Linked DNA regions of Homo sapiens: region 2 is linked to region 1. Evidence: promoter capture Hi-C in human tissues and cell types (Jung and others, 2019). All regions are on one chromosome and are shown on one strand. Each heading gives the region's core, a stretch centred on a gene start or on the middle of the fragment in contact. The rest is flanking DNA. Distances are from core to core; before and after follow the strand shown. Region 1 has its middle 14 kb from the start of MRPS6. Region 2 holds the start of KCNE1 (potassium voltage-gated channel subfamily E regulatory subunit 1).

Region 1 (6,408 bases), core at 1,706-4,205:
CATTTGAAATTAAAATATATCTGATTCTCTAAAACACTTCAACCTGATATGGCAAACTCATAAACCTGACAAGATCTTTCTAAGCCTTTAAGCGATTATTGAAATTTAATAAATCTAGGGAATGAGCTTCTCTTAAGCTTCATGGTGGATAAGTATCGACTGTTTTCTAGTGTTAATTCTCCCCTCTTTTCCTTTTAGCTAAAACCCTTAAGCTTTAACTAGTTGCATGACCACACAACCACAGACTACATTTCCCAAGCTCCTTTGCAGCTGGCTGTCACCATGTGACTATGTTTGGGCCAATGGAATATGAGCAGATATGATGTGTGCTACAATGAGCGCATCTCCTTAAAGACACTTGCCATAGACTTTCTTCTTTCCCACTTCCCGTTGATGTGGTAGTGAGCCACCATCAACCATGCTTATGAAGATAACACCCTAGGCCAAGGGAGAACCAAAGGAGAGAAGGAACCAATTCCTTAGAAGACCTCAAATCACAAGGCTGCTTGGCCTCCAGCTCTGGACCATTTCACTACTGACTGTTAACAAAAAATGAAATAAACTTCTATCATCTTTGAGCCATTACATTTTGTGGTTAGATTGTACCCCAATAATACAACTTCCAAAGACTGTCTACAAATTCAATTAATTATATCCTCTTAAATGTTTCAAATTAAAATTGCAAGTGTAATATGCCAGGCTGTCTACTATGTTAGATTTTCTTCCATGTTCCAATCTCTTTAAATAACCAAAAGATTATAGTGATGATTTAAAAATTATTCCTAACCTTACCACAAAAAGAGTGTGTCTTCCTCCATTTTTTGCTGCTATAACAGAATGCCACAGACTAGGTAATTTATAATGAATAGAAATTTATTTCTCACAGTTCTGGAAACTGGGAAGTCCAAGATCAAGAAGATAGCACCTGGCAAGGGCCTTCTTGCTGTGTTATCCCATGGCAAAAAGTGGAAGGGCAAGACAGAGGCCAAGGGGGGGCCAAACTCATCCTTTTGTAAGGAACCCACTCCCACAATAATAGCATTAATCCATTCATGAGGGCAGAATCAAAACCAGAGTATTGTCATATTTTATTGATTCTCATATTGAATCACCCTCTCATTAGGCCCCACCTCACAACACTGTTGTATTGGGAATTAAGTTTTCATCACACTTTTTTTGGGAGAGACAGTTAAACTAACTAAAGCAGAGTGCTATATTTTGTTGAATCTAAGATATAAGATTCAACTTTTTTTTTAGGATATCACTAAGGTAGAAAAAACACAAACATTTATAATTTTTTGGAAATTTTCAACTTTTATTTTAGATCACCATTTATAATCATATGGTGCCATTGATTTCTTTCTTTTCTTTTTTTTTTTTTTTCCAGACAGAGTTTCACTCTTTTGCCAGGCCAGAGTGAAGTGGCACAGCCTCGGTTCACTGCAACCTCCATGCCGCACCCCCCAGATTCAAGCTATTCTTCTGCCTCAGCCTCCTGAGTAGCTGGCATTATAGGGTGCCCACCCCATGCCCAGCTAATTTTTGTATTTTTAGTAGAGACAGGGTTTTGCCATGTTGACCGGGCTGGTCTCAAACTCCTGACCTTGGGCGATCCACCTGCTTCAGCCTCCCAAACTGCTGAGATTACAGGTGTGAGCCACTGTGCGTGGCCTGATGCCATCGATTGTAAAATGCATTCTAATTCCCAAGATGGTAAAATGTAAAACACTGTGCACCTTAGAATCAGTAAAATATGATAGTATTCTGGTTTTGATTCTGCTCCTCATTGATTCTACACTAGTCTCTACATTTTCCCAGGGTTGCAAAGTCCCTTACCCAACTGAGGGGAAGAGAGTTGCTGTCTCCAGTGAACTGAGTCTACTGGTGGCAGATTCAGGACCTTGACTCAGTTACAAATTCAAGTTCTTGGTAGAGAAGTAAACACCAAATCTGGACACAGGTGCTTTGTACTTCCAGAATGATTTTGCCTGAGCAGCCATGAATACTGGAGTTGGAATAGTAGAGTTGGAACTTGTCAGCTGTGTCAAGAGAGTCCCTCTGTGCCCACATCTTTGCCCTGGGATTTAGTTTCATAACAGTGTATCATGTGTTTTCTGGGTGGCTTTCAAATTTCACCTTATGTCAATCTTAATTGAAACCTCTGTCAACTTTTCATCACCTGATTTGAGTGGGCAGATCCTACAAATACATGCACACTTTCACCCATACATACACACACCAGGCTAATCTCTTTGCTGAAAGATTAGGATTCGTTGAATGAGTGCTATTTGCAACACTCTTTATATTTTCGCCAATCTCATTGGCCATCATTTTGTAATTATTACATTAAAAAAGTAAAAACAAGGATGTATCAAAGGACTCAAGAGTGCATCCTAGAATCCAGTAACAGAACGTACATCCAGGGCTCCTGGGGAACTAGACAAGACATCCTTGGTTTCTCTGGGACTACATGTATCTTGTCTCTGCTCTGCTCATGAAGTGTCTGACATCACCCCACCCTCCCCATGCCATCTTGTCTGTTTGGAGACAAGCACTCTCTGCCTCTACATGCCCACCATGGAAGATGGCTAGCCCATAGCCCAGGTATCCTGAGGACACACATGCCAAGTTCAAGTGACAGCAGATACCACCATCTCTGATCAGGAGGAGGAATCTCACTTGACATCCATCTTCAGATCCATCTGAATCCACGAGAGTACAGTGATGGCATACAAATTCTTGCTTCCAAGAGAAGAACTATCCAAGAGAATTGTAGGCAGAGCAGGTCTCACCAAAGGTGGCTAGTTGGCAGCAGTACAGCTTGGTGGTCAAGAGCATGGAGCCAAAGCCAGACCGCCTGTGTCCAATGACTGTGTACCCTTGAACAAGTAACTGAACTCTGTGGTTCAGTTTCCTCATCTGTAACATAATCAGACCTAAGGCATAGGGTCGTGTCCAATATACCACACACAATACACGGAAAGTACAGTGCAGCCTGCAGTGTGGGAAGTGCTTAATAGCGGTTTGCCATTATTGCTACAAAGGCCCAATGCTTTAAAAGAAAAATTGATTCAGATCACCAAGCTCTGCTTGACTCTTATTCCCCAGATGTCCCCTCTTTCCACAGCTGGGGAAACCTGACTCCACTTGAAGGCTCAGTGGCACTCCAGGAGCTGAGAAGAAGCAGATCCTAATGAGCAGAAGGGATGTAAGGAGCTCTAATTTGGCTCTAACACAGTGCCCGGCTCCATCAGTGTTAGCCTGCAGCACATAATGGGTTTGCAGTGCCGTGAGGCTTCAGTAGAATGTAAGCTCCAGAGAACAGGGCCTTGGTCTAATCATGGTAAGGTCCTGGCCCCTGATACAATGCCTGACACAGAGGGTGATGAATAGATATTTGCTGGCAGAATAAGGTAGGAATTTCCTCTAGATCAAGCTTGTCCAACCCATGGCCCATGGGTCGAATGCAGCCCAGGATGGCTTTGAGTGTGGCCCAGGATGTCTCAGTATGGCTTTGAATGCAGTCCAACACAAATTCGTAAACTTTCTTAAAATCTATGAGTTTATTTTGCAATTTTTTAAAAAACTCATCAGCTATTGTTAGTGTTAGCATGCTTTATGTGTGGCCCAAGACAATTCTTCTTTCAGTATGGCCCAGGGAAGCCAAAAGATTGGACACCCCTGCTCTAGATGGTGGGCTGTCCCCACTTAACTGGGGATATCAACCTCTGTGCCCCCTCTGAGGGTGGTACCTGAAGCCTTTGGCTAGGTTGAGTTCCCAGGGAGGGAGATGAGGAAAAAGGGGGTCTAGCTGGAGGCTTGAGGAGCCTCAGCCTTGGAGCCATGGGTTCCATTTGGGACATAGGTCTCTGCCATTGCTGCTCCCCCCACATCCTCTCTCCCTGGAGGTGCCTTCAGCATGATCCCCCTCAGAAGGCCTGAAACACAAACAGCTGGGGAGGAATAGAAGACAGCGGGAATCTTCTAATCTAGAGTAGGGCAGGAAAGGGTGTCCTTCTCCTTTTCTGGGTCCGCAGCTGTGCAAAACAGTAACATTGCAACACCACTGGCATTTTTCTCCCTCCTCAGGTGGGAAATATTTACCCTGCCTAGAGCAGCTACAACACACACTGGTGACCCATCCCTGTGCCCAGGTCCCTATCTTACCACGCCATCCAGTCCCAGTCTCCTTTCCTGTCCTCTTGTTAGCAGACCTCCCGAGTACCAGGAAGCTTACCCCACCTCAGCCAGCGTGCCCCTCTGTGCCAGCTTCTGAGTTTTTCCTGAGGGGATACCCGTGATGCCATCGCTCCGGTCTTGATGGTGTTATTTCCTTGTGGCCTGGAAGTCTCTTGGCCTGCGCTGCTCAGCCAGAGCGTCCCACAAGAGGATGCATACCTCACTCCCATGAGCCCCACCCCGGGATTTTCATAGCTACTGTCAGGGACAAGTCGTGGGAAATGGGCCTCAAATGCTTTCCAGAAGCTTCCTTGCTCACTGCATGTAAAGCTTTAAAGCCCTCATTTAATTGTCTTCTTCCCACATTTTAAAAGTCAACACCCCTGAGGTGGGGCGCGGTGGCTCACACCTGTAATCCCAGCACTTTGGGAGGCTGAGGCAGACAGATCACTTGAGGCCAGGAGTTAGAGACCAGCCTGGCCAACATGGCAAAACCCCATCTCTACTAAAAATACAAAAATTAGCCAGGTGTGGTGGCACATGTCTGTCATCCCAGCTATTCAGGAGGCTGAGGCATGAGAATTGCTTGAACCCGGGAGGCAGAGGTTGCAGAGATCTTGCCACTGCACTCCAGCCTGGGTGACAAAGTGAGACTCTGTCTCAAAAAAAAACAAAATAAAACAAAAACACACACACACAAAAACAAAACCAGAGAGCCTTGGCTGCCCTACCCCAGGGAGGGGGTCTGGTTCCGCCCAGGAGGCTGTGCCCACAAGCTTCTGGCTAGCCTCTGTAAAACCTCCCCAGATCAATAGATAAGCCAAGAGGAGGAATCGAGTCATAGGGAGCAGGAAGGCCAGGCTGGGGACAGGACAGGGACAGCCCATGCTTGAGGGACAATTGAGAAGAGGAGGTACCTGTCAAATTAGGCTTCAGGGTTTTAAAAGATTGTTATTTGTATTTTGCTATTGTAAGATTACTGTAACCTTACTACGGAAAATTCAGGAAACAAAAAAATGCCCATAATCCCACAATCCAAGCTGAGCCACTGTTGACACTTTAGAGGTTTCTTTCTAAACTTTTATGGATATGTGTTATTTAATCAGACGGTACATATAATTTTATATTCCATTTTTTCATTGATATCTAATCATGAGCTTGTCAATGTTTTTAACTAACATTCATAACTGTTATTTAGACTTGCTGTGTTATATCCTACTCCAGGAAATGCCGGTGTCCATTTAATCTTTCCCCTGCTCTTGGATGTTTCAGGTGACACTTTTTCACTCTTCATTTGTATAGCAAATCCCTAGATGAACATCTTTGTTCTCTGGCTTTTTCTGCATTTAGGAATGCTTCCTTTGCTTGGCCTTCCAAAGCGGAATTTCTTGAAACTGATGGCTTCTTGGGTCCATTGCCAAATGTTTTTTTTCCAAATAGGGCATCAGCAGTGCTGAGCAGGCCTCGGGTTAGAATCAGAGCTAGGGGGCCAGGCTCGGTGGCTCACGCCTGTAATCCCAGCACTTTGGGAGGCCCAGGCAGGAGGATCACCTGAGATCAGGGGTTTGAGACCAGCCTGGCCAATATGGTGAAGCCCTATCTCTACTAAAAATACAAAAAAATTAGCCAGACATGGTGGTGCAGACCTGTAGTCCCAGCTACTCAGGAGGCTGAGTCAGGAGAATTGCTTAAACCTGGGAGGCGGAGGTTGCAGTGAGCTGAAATCACACACTGCAGTCCAGCTTGGGGGACAGAGCGAGACTCCATCTCAAAAAAAAAAAAAAAATCAGAGCTACGGGAAACTGAGGCCAGCAAGGATCCTGTGTTCTCAGTACCCGAAACACTGCAATAAAATTTCTCCAGGGCTAGGCCAGGAGGTCAGAAGATCTAAGAAGTGGAACTAGGGATGATTGGAAATGCCCGAATCATGTGGAATCAGTGCCAAAAGAAAGTAAGTAATGAGTCTAGACATGTAATTGCCGAAGTGCATATGGTGCCTCCAGCTGTACCACCCTGAACAGCTGATTGCTCAAGTGCTATACAGTAAAGACCAAGAGGTGGAAAATTACAGGCAAAGTACAGGTGAAGGCCAGGACCCCAGGCACATATTTTTAAAAGAAGCTCTGGCCGGGCACAGGGCTCACTCCTGTAATCCCAGCACTTTGGGAGGCCGAGGTGGGTGGATTGCCTGAGGTCAGGAGTTCAGGACCAGTCTGGCCAACATAGTGA
Region 2 (6,408 bases), core at 2,514-5,013, 450 kb before region 1:
ATCCTGATCAACATTAGCATTAGGCGTTTATCTATGAAAATTCACATGCTACTTTTTTTTCTCTGTCTTGAGAACCATGATCCTGTCATTTCCAAGAGTATTTGCACATTTTCAAGCCATATATGTTCAAGGTTTAATCGTGCTGGAAAATCCACACTTCCACCAAGTTGGTCAAATCTGATTATTGGACAGATTCAGGCATTGACCCCCACTAAGGACAGGCAGGAAATATTTCCAAATAGAGACTCTCAACAGGTCCCCTTAGATAAAGGAGGGAAAAAGTCAGTGGTCCCACTGCCAGTGAAGCCAATAGACCTTAGAATAGAAAATACAAGTCAAGGAAAAGGCTCACTCAGGACAGCCTATTTCTTCTGAGTTGTTCTGTGGAAGCCTCAGCTGAAATTGTAAAACCAATAATGCACAAAGTTTCTGGTTCCCAGGCTGATGGGCCTGAAAGTAATTGAATCATGAATGTGCCCAGGACCCACGCATTGCTTTGTAGGAGAGGGGTTCAGTCAAATGTGAAACAACCGACATTCAACAGGCAGCATCATGCAGGATGCACACTTTGCCATTGATTGAAAGTGTTTCTTCAATAGGCTTTGATAGAATATGTTACTAATCTGATGGGAAACAGCTTAGGGCCATGCAAAAAAAGAAAATCAGCCCCTGGAAATGAGTGGCTAAATCAAAGCGAAGGGCAGTAGAAGGAGAGGAGCGGAGCAATTCATGGAGCTATTCAGACACAAGCTATAAACATTGATTTGAAGTCAGCAGGCATTTGGGATTTTACATTTCCAGAATATTGTGTGTGAATTACTGCCCACAGAAGATTTGGGTTTTCAGAGAGCTTTAATTTTCTGTGAAATGTGCAGAACTCACTACAAAATAAATCGATTTTCTCATATGTTAAGTTGCAGGAGATTAAAAGCACTCTATGGACGTGTTATGATCAAAAGTGAACGCGCAGCCAAAGTCTGTCACACTTCACAGTGCCCGTAGAACCCGCAGAAAGTTTGCCTGGGTATCATAGGTACATATCCAGTAACATTCACCCAAAGGTCAGTGACTCAGGTGGAAGCTGCATACATAATTACCCTAAAAATTATTCAGGAAGAAGGTCCACTATGAATAACAAGTACTCTTCCCTCCTGCCTCTCTGGCCTCCTGATTCTAAAGTAGAACAGGGAGTAGAACGTGGAGGAAACTTTTCAAGTATATCACCACTCTTGGCAATCCTTAATTCACATCTGAAATTCTCACTCCGTGACTCACCGAAAGTTACATGGCAATCAGGTAGATGGATTTGCTTCTCACATACCTCATTTTCTTCCACAATCCTTCCCTGCTGTTCGTGAAAGGTCATTTCAATCATAGCTATGTTTATGAAAGACAGAAGGAAATTATTCACAAGTGATTGAGGTGTGCTGCCTGTGCCCACCGTTTCTCCTTCTTTCAGGATTCTGATGAGGGACTCGGTGACCCTTCTACACAGCGAACGAGTGCCAAGTAGATGCAGTGGCCACTGCTCAAATCCCTCTTTCAAGAGTGTCAGGGCCCTCCTGGCTGACATTTGTACTCTGGCAGCGCAGACTTTTCAGTGTTTTTAACTTACCATGTTGTCTTTTCTCTGCCTAGAAAATGATCTCATTGTCCCAGCCCAGCCCTGCTAACCCCACAATGAGGTCCACGAGGTCCTGCTCACCCCTGTTCAAATTCCAGCAGCTACCTCTGTGCCCAGCCACAGAACATGTTTCTAGGGGCTGCTTTTCTTTTCTTGAGTGGCCCTAAGCTGTTTCTTACCAGATTAGTAATATATTCTATCAAAACCTACTGAAGAAACACTTTCAATCAGTGGCAAAGCGTGCATTCTGCACAGTTCTGCCTGTTGAATGTCGGTCATTTCACATTTTACTGAACCCCTCTCTTACAAAACAACGTGTGGGTCCTGGGCACATTCATGATGCAGTGACTTTCAAACCCATCAGCCTGGGAACCCAGAAACTTCTTGCATTATTGGTCACAATAAGCGCTACTGAAATGATTGACTCTTTAATATTTCTCCTGCAGGTGTCTATTAGGAATGTCTCTTCCCCCTAAGAATCGTTGCCAGCTACTCCCGCTGGGTCTCCCATCATGCCCCCTTCTTTTCCATTGTATGGCATATTTTCTTTTTTATCGTAATTGTTAAATTGTTTGTCTTCCCTGTTGAAACATAATTTGGGTGGAAGTGGGATTCCTGGTAGCCAATGGCTCATAGTAGACGTTCAACACGCAAGTGGATTGGATAGATGGAAGGATAGATGGGTAGATGGAAAGTTGGATGGATGGATGGATGGATGGATGGATGGATGGATGGATGGATGGATAGGGATTTTGGAGGAAGAGGAGTGAGCAGTCACTGAAAAGAATAGAAAAATAATGAGGCTTGCTCCCTCTCCCTAGTCAGAAGAGCCAGTAAGCAGCTTAGAGCTTTAATCCCACAAATTGTCAGGCAGCTGGCGCAAGAACAGGGAAAAAGAGAGAGAGAGAGAGAGAGAGACCCTGTCTGTGGTAGGTTATGGTCATCAGTGAAAAAGAACAAAAACCTTTGTTTTAAAACTCTCCTCAAAACAGATGATTGGCTAGAGGGTGCGGCACAAAGGAACTTGTCAGGGTGATGGAGACATTCTGTATCTGGATTGAGCAATGCAAGAACCTGGGTAAAGACACAGTCATGGTAACAGCTGTATACATCTGTTGAAAACTCATCAAACTTATCATATTTAGAAAGGGTACATTTTGCTTCATGTAAAGTATGCCTCAATAAAGTGTACTTGATTTTAAAATCAGGATAAAGGAAAAAAACATTGATCTTGGATAATGGGCAGGGGTTGGGGAGAAGGTCTTAATTATCATCATATCCTTTTAAAAACGTTTTTCAAGTGTGTGATGCTCTGATGACATTCTTAAGACACAGCAAGGCAAAGCAGTATCCCAAATGAGAGAGTGAGCATTCCAATAAATATTTTCTGTAAGACACTGATATGTCTATGACTATTTGCTAAATTTAAAAATCAACTTGGACCATATTTACTCCCTTAAAGTCTAATAGACGACTAATTTCTTCTATGTTCAGAACAAATATGTTGCTACTTTAAGAACAGCATACATAGGTGTGGTCGGCCCTCTGTGTCTAAGGCTTCTGCATCTGTGGATTCAACCAACAATGGACTGAAAATATTCCAAAAATAAAATAAAATTAATGAAACAACAACAAAAATAAAACAAATAAAAAAATGCCAGGTAACAACTACTTACAAAGCATTTACATAGTATTAGGTGTTAGAAGTAATCAAGAGATGATTTAAATCACCATCTATGATTGGCTGATATGCATAGGTTATATGCAAATACTATGCCACTATATATAAAGGACTTGAACATTCGCAAATTTTGGTATCTGCAGGGGATTCTGGAACCAAACCCCATGGATACCAAGAGACAACTATATATAAAATACTGAAAGAGGCATGGAGAGTGATTTTCAGGCCTCTACCTAAAGCCCTGAATATTAGAAATTACTGAATTTCTTCTCAGGAAGGAAATTACGCCATAAACCAGTGTTGCCACACACCCAGAGAACAAGATGACCCGACGCCCCAGCCTGGTCATGCCACATGAGCTGAGCAGTGGGTAGGCCACTGAGCCAGTGATAGAAATCACAAATTACAAAACGTCAGAGTACTTTCTGGAAATAAGCCTTCCTCTCCAGGGAACAACGCATTTGACACTTGACTGGGATACACTACCGGATCCTCCGAGGGTGATGGTTCTCAAGAAGGCAGAAGCAATGGTGACCAATAGACCTCCTTAAAGGCTGAGCCGCTGGGCACCTTCCTACTCCTCTCGACCGTGCTAGGATGACTGCAGCAGAGTCCCCGAGTCCTTTGATGCAAGGGTCTAGGTGAGTTCGAAGGAGAGCCATACTAGGCCAGGCAGAAAGGCCCATGGTGATGGCTGTCCACCCTGGTCAGGGGAATTCTAGGTTCAGGCCATGCGGCAAGGTCACCTTGAGGGACATGCTTTGCTCTAAGCTCAGCTTAAGTGTGTCTGAACCCCCCTCACTTCTTCCAACTGCAGAAGCACATGGAGAAGGGGGAGAAAGGGTTGCCCACCTCCTAAAATGAGGGCAGCGTGGTGAAGAGCCCCATCATGCCCCACCAAGGTCCTGTGTGCAGGGCAGGGCAGTGCCTATCCAGAAGGCCAGACCTCTAACTGCTGCTCTGTAGGACGTCCGGGCCTCACATGCAGGCTCCTATAAGCTGGCTGTCTTGGCAAGAGGGCCCTGGTACAGCACTGTGTTCATCACAGAAAACCACACCGTACATAATTTGTAACAGACAGAAATGCATTTGGCTCATGGTTCTGGAGACTGGGAACCCAGGATGGAGGGGCCACATCTGGCAAGGGCCTTCTTGCCATGACATGGTGGAAGGTATCACAAGGTTGGGGAAGGAGGGGTGGGCGGGGCGGGAAGAGAGAGAGAGAGAACAAGAGAGAGAGAATCCATTCATAAGGGTGGAGCCCTCATGACTAAACACCTCCCATTAGGTCCCACCTCCCAACACTGTTGCTTTGGGGATTAAGTTTCCAGCTGGCTTTTTTCAAACCTTAGCAACCACCAAACAGACAAGCCCTTCGGCCTGTCCTGGAGGGCGTTGAATGGCATGGCCTGGAGCTCAACCAGGAGAACCGTGCTCAGGAGGAAGAGACCAGAAGGATAACTCAAAAAGTTCTGAGAAGTTCCTAAGACCACCTGAAGAGAAGGAGCCTGCTGCCAATGGTGTGGACACCGCAGTGTGCTTGAGGAGACTTCAGAAACGAGAACTGGTAGGAGAAGGGGGTTGCACAGACCCTTTCCTCAGTTAGGCACCCTCTGCTCCCACCCTCATGCCCACCCTGACATCAGGCTAAGGGAGAGGCGCTCATCCATTGACAGGTGCCAGGCTGTCCTGGGCCTGGCAAACCCTGGCCTTGTACACCCACTCTCCACACGTCTGCCCCCACCCTCCCAGGGGCAGGGCCGGGCTTCCCTGCAGAGACACAGGGCAAAGAGGGAGAGAGAAGGCCTCAGGCCAGGGCATGGCCTAGTGCCTCCCAGCGCCAGGTCCTGACAGCCTGAGAGAGCTGGAATCAAGGAAGGTGATCCTGGGCCCCAGACAGACGTCAGTGAGCTTCAGCCTCTGGTGGCTGCACACCAGCCAGGGCAGCAGCGCCCCCTCCTGCCTGTGTTCAGCTGTGTGGGCTGCAAGAGGACTAAGGAGAGTTTCAAGGAGGCAGGCAGTGGGGGAGGAAGTGTCCCAGGTAGAGGCTGAAGCTTTAAGGAGGATGGGAGGGGAGGCTTCACCCGGAAGGAGCTTTTGGAGCAAGGGCCTGAAGGAAATTGGGGAGAGAGCCTGAGTATCTTTGGTAACTGGGAAGAGAGCATTCCAAGCAAAGGGAAAAGAAGAGAGGCTGTCAGACAAGTGTGCACCCACCATGTCTGGGCACATCGAGAAGGACCCTGTGGCTGGAGGGGAGGAAGGAGGGGAGAATGGAAAGTGAGACCAGAGGTGACCTGACCAGGGCCTTCGGAGCCCCGGTGAGGGGCTCAGCGGGTGGGTGTCATGGGTGTGAAGAGGTAGGTCCCTCATCACCAGTCAGCAAAGCGTTCCCTGGGCTCAGCTGAAGTCCTGCTGGAGTGTGTGCCCCCTGGACTGGAGGGGATGGGATTGGTGGGAATAAAGTTGTGAGTTTGGAGTTGTGGTGAGCAGAGCACGAAGTGAGCCCCCAGCACTGCCACTTCCGCGTGAGGGGTGAACTGGCCCTGCACTCTCTCCCCTTGAGTGTGGGCAGGACAACCCTCTCTGCCTACAACGGCTCAGCACTCGTACTACTGTGGGACAGTGCTTCTGTGATTACGTTCCTTTATAGGAAAAATTGATTTTGCAGATGTAGGTAAGATCTGGACTCGTTTGACTTTGAGTTTATCAAGAAGGATGATTGACAGACACAGTGGCTACTTGAGAGTGGAGGGTGGGAGGAGAAAGAGGATCAGAAAAAAATAACTACTGGGTACTAGGTTTAGTACCTGGGTGACGAAATAATCTGTACAACAAACCCCCATGACACAAGTTTACCCCAATAATGAACCTGCACATGTACTCCTGAACCTAAAATAAAAGTTGAAAAAGGGGCCAGGCGTGGTGGCTCACGCCTGTAATCCCAGCACTTTGGGAGAGGCCGAGGCGGGCGGATCACGAGGTCAGGAGATCGAGACCATCCTGGCTAATGTGGTGAAACCCTGTCTCTACTAAAATTACAAAAAATTAGCCAGGCATGGTGGCAGGCACCTGTAGTCCCAGCTACTGGGGAGGCTGAGGCAGG

Evidence for each region. Contacts are between HindIII fragments. The study calls those that stand out against the background at their distance.
Region 2: the fragment with the promoter of KCNE1 here is called in contact with a fragment that was not itself captured in region 1 in 1 of the 25 tissues and cell types used here (liver).

The regions. Positions count from the first base shown.
Region 1 is chr21:34,056,071-34,062,478 of GRCh38, reverse strand. No RefSeq gene overlaps it. Among named protein-coding and RNA genes, the nearest start is that of MRPS6, 14 kb to the left of the region's middle. The HindIII fragment of the contact is 6,965 bases long and covers 1-6,408 here.
Region 2 is chr21:34,509,565-34,515,972 of GRCh38, reverse strand. It overlaps KCNE1 (potassium voltage-gated channel subfamily E regulatory subunit 1), which reads left to right and starts at 3,763. Exons shown (of 4, transcript NM_000219.6): 1 at 3,763-3,946; 2 at 4,658-4,872. The HindIII fragment of the contact is 8,709 bases long and covers 1-6,408 here.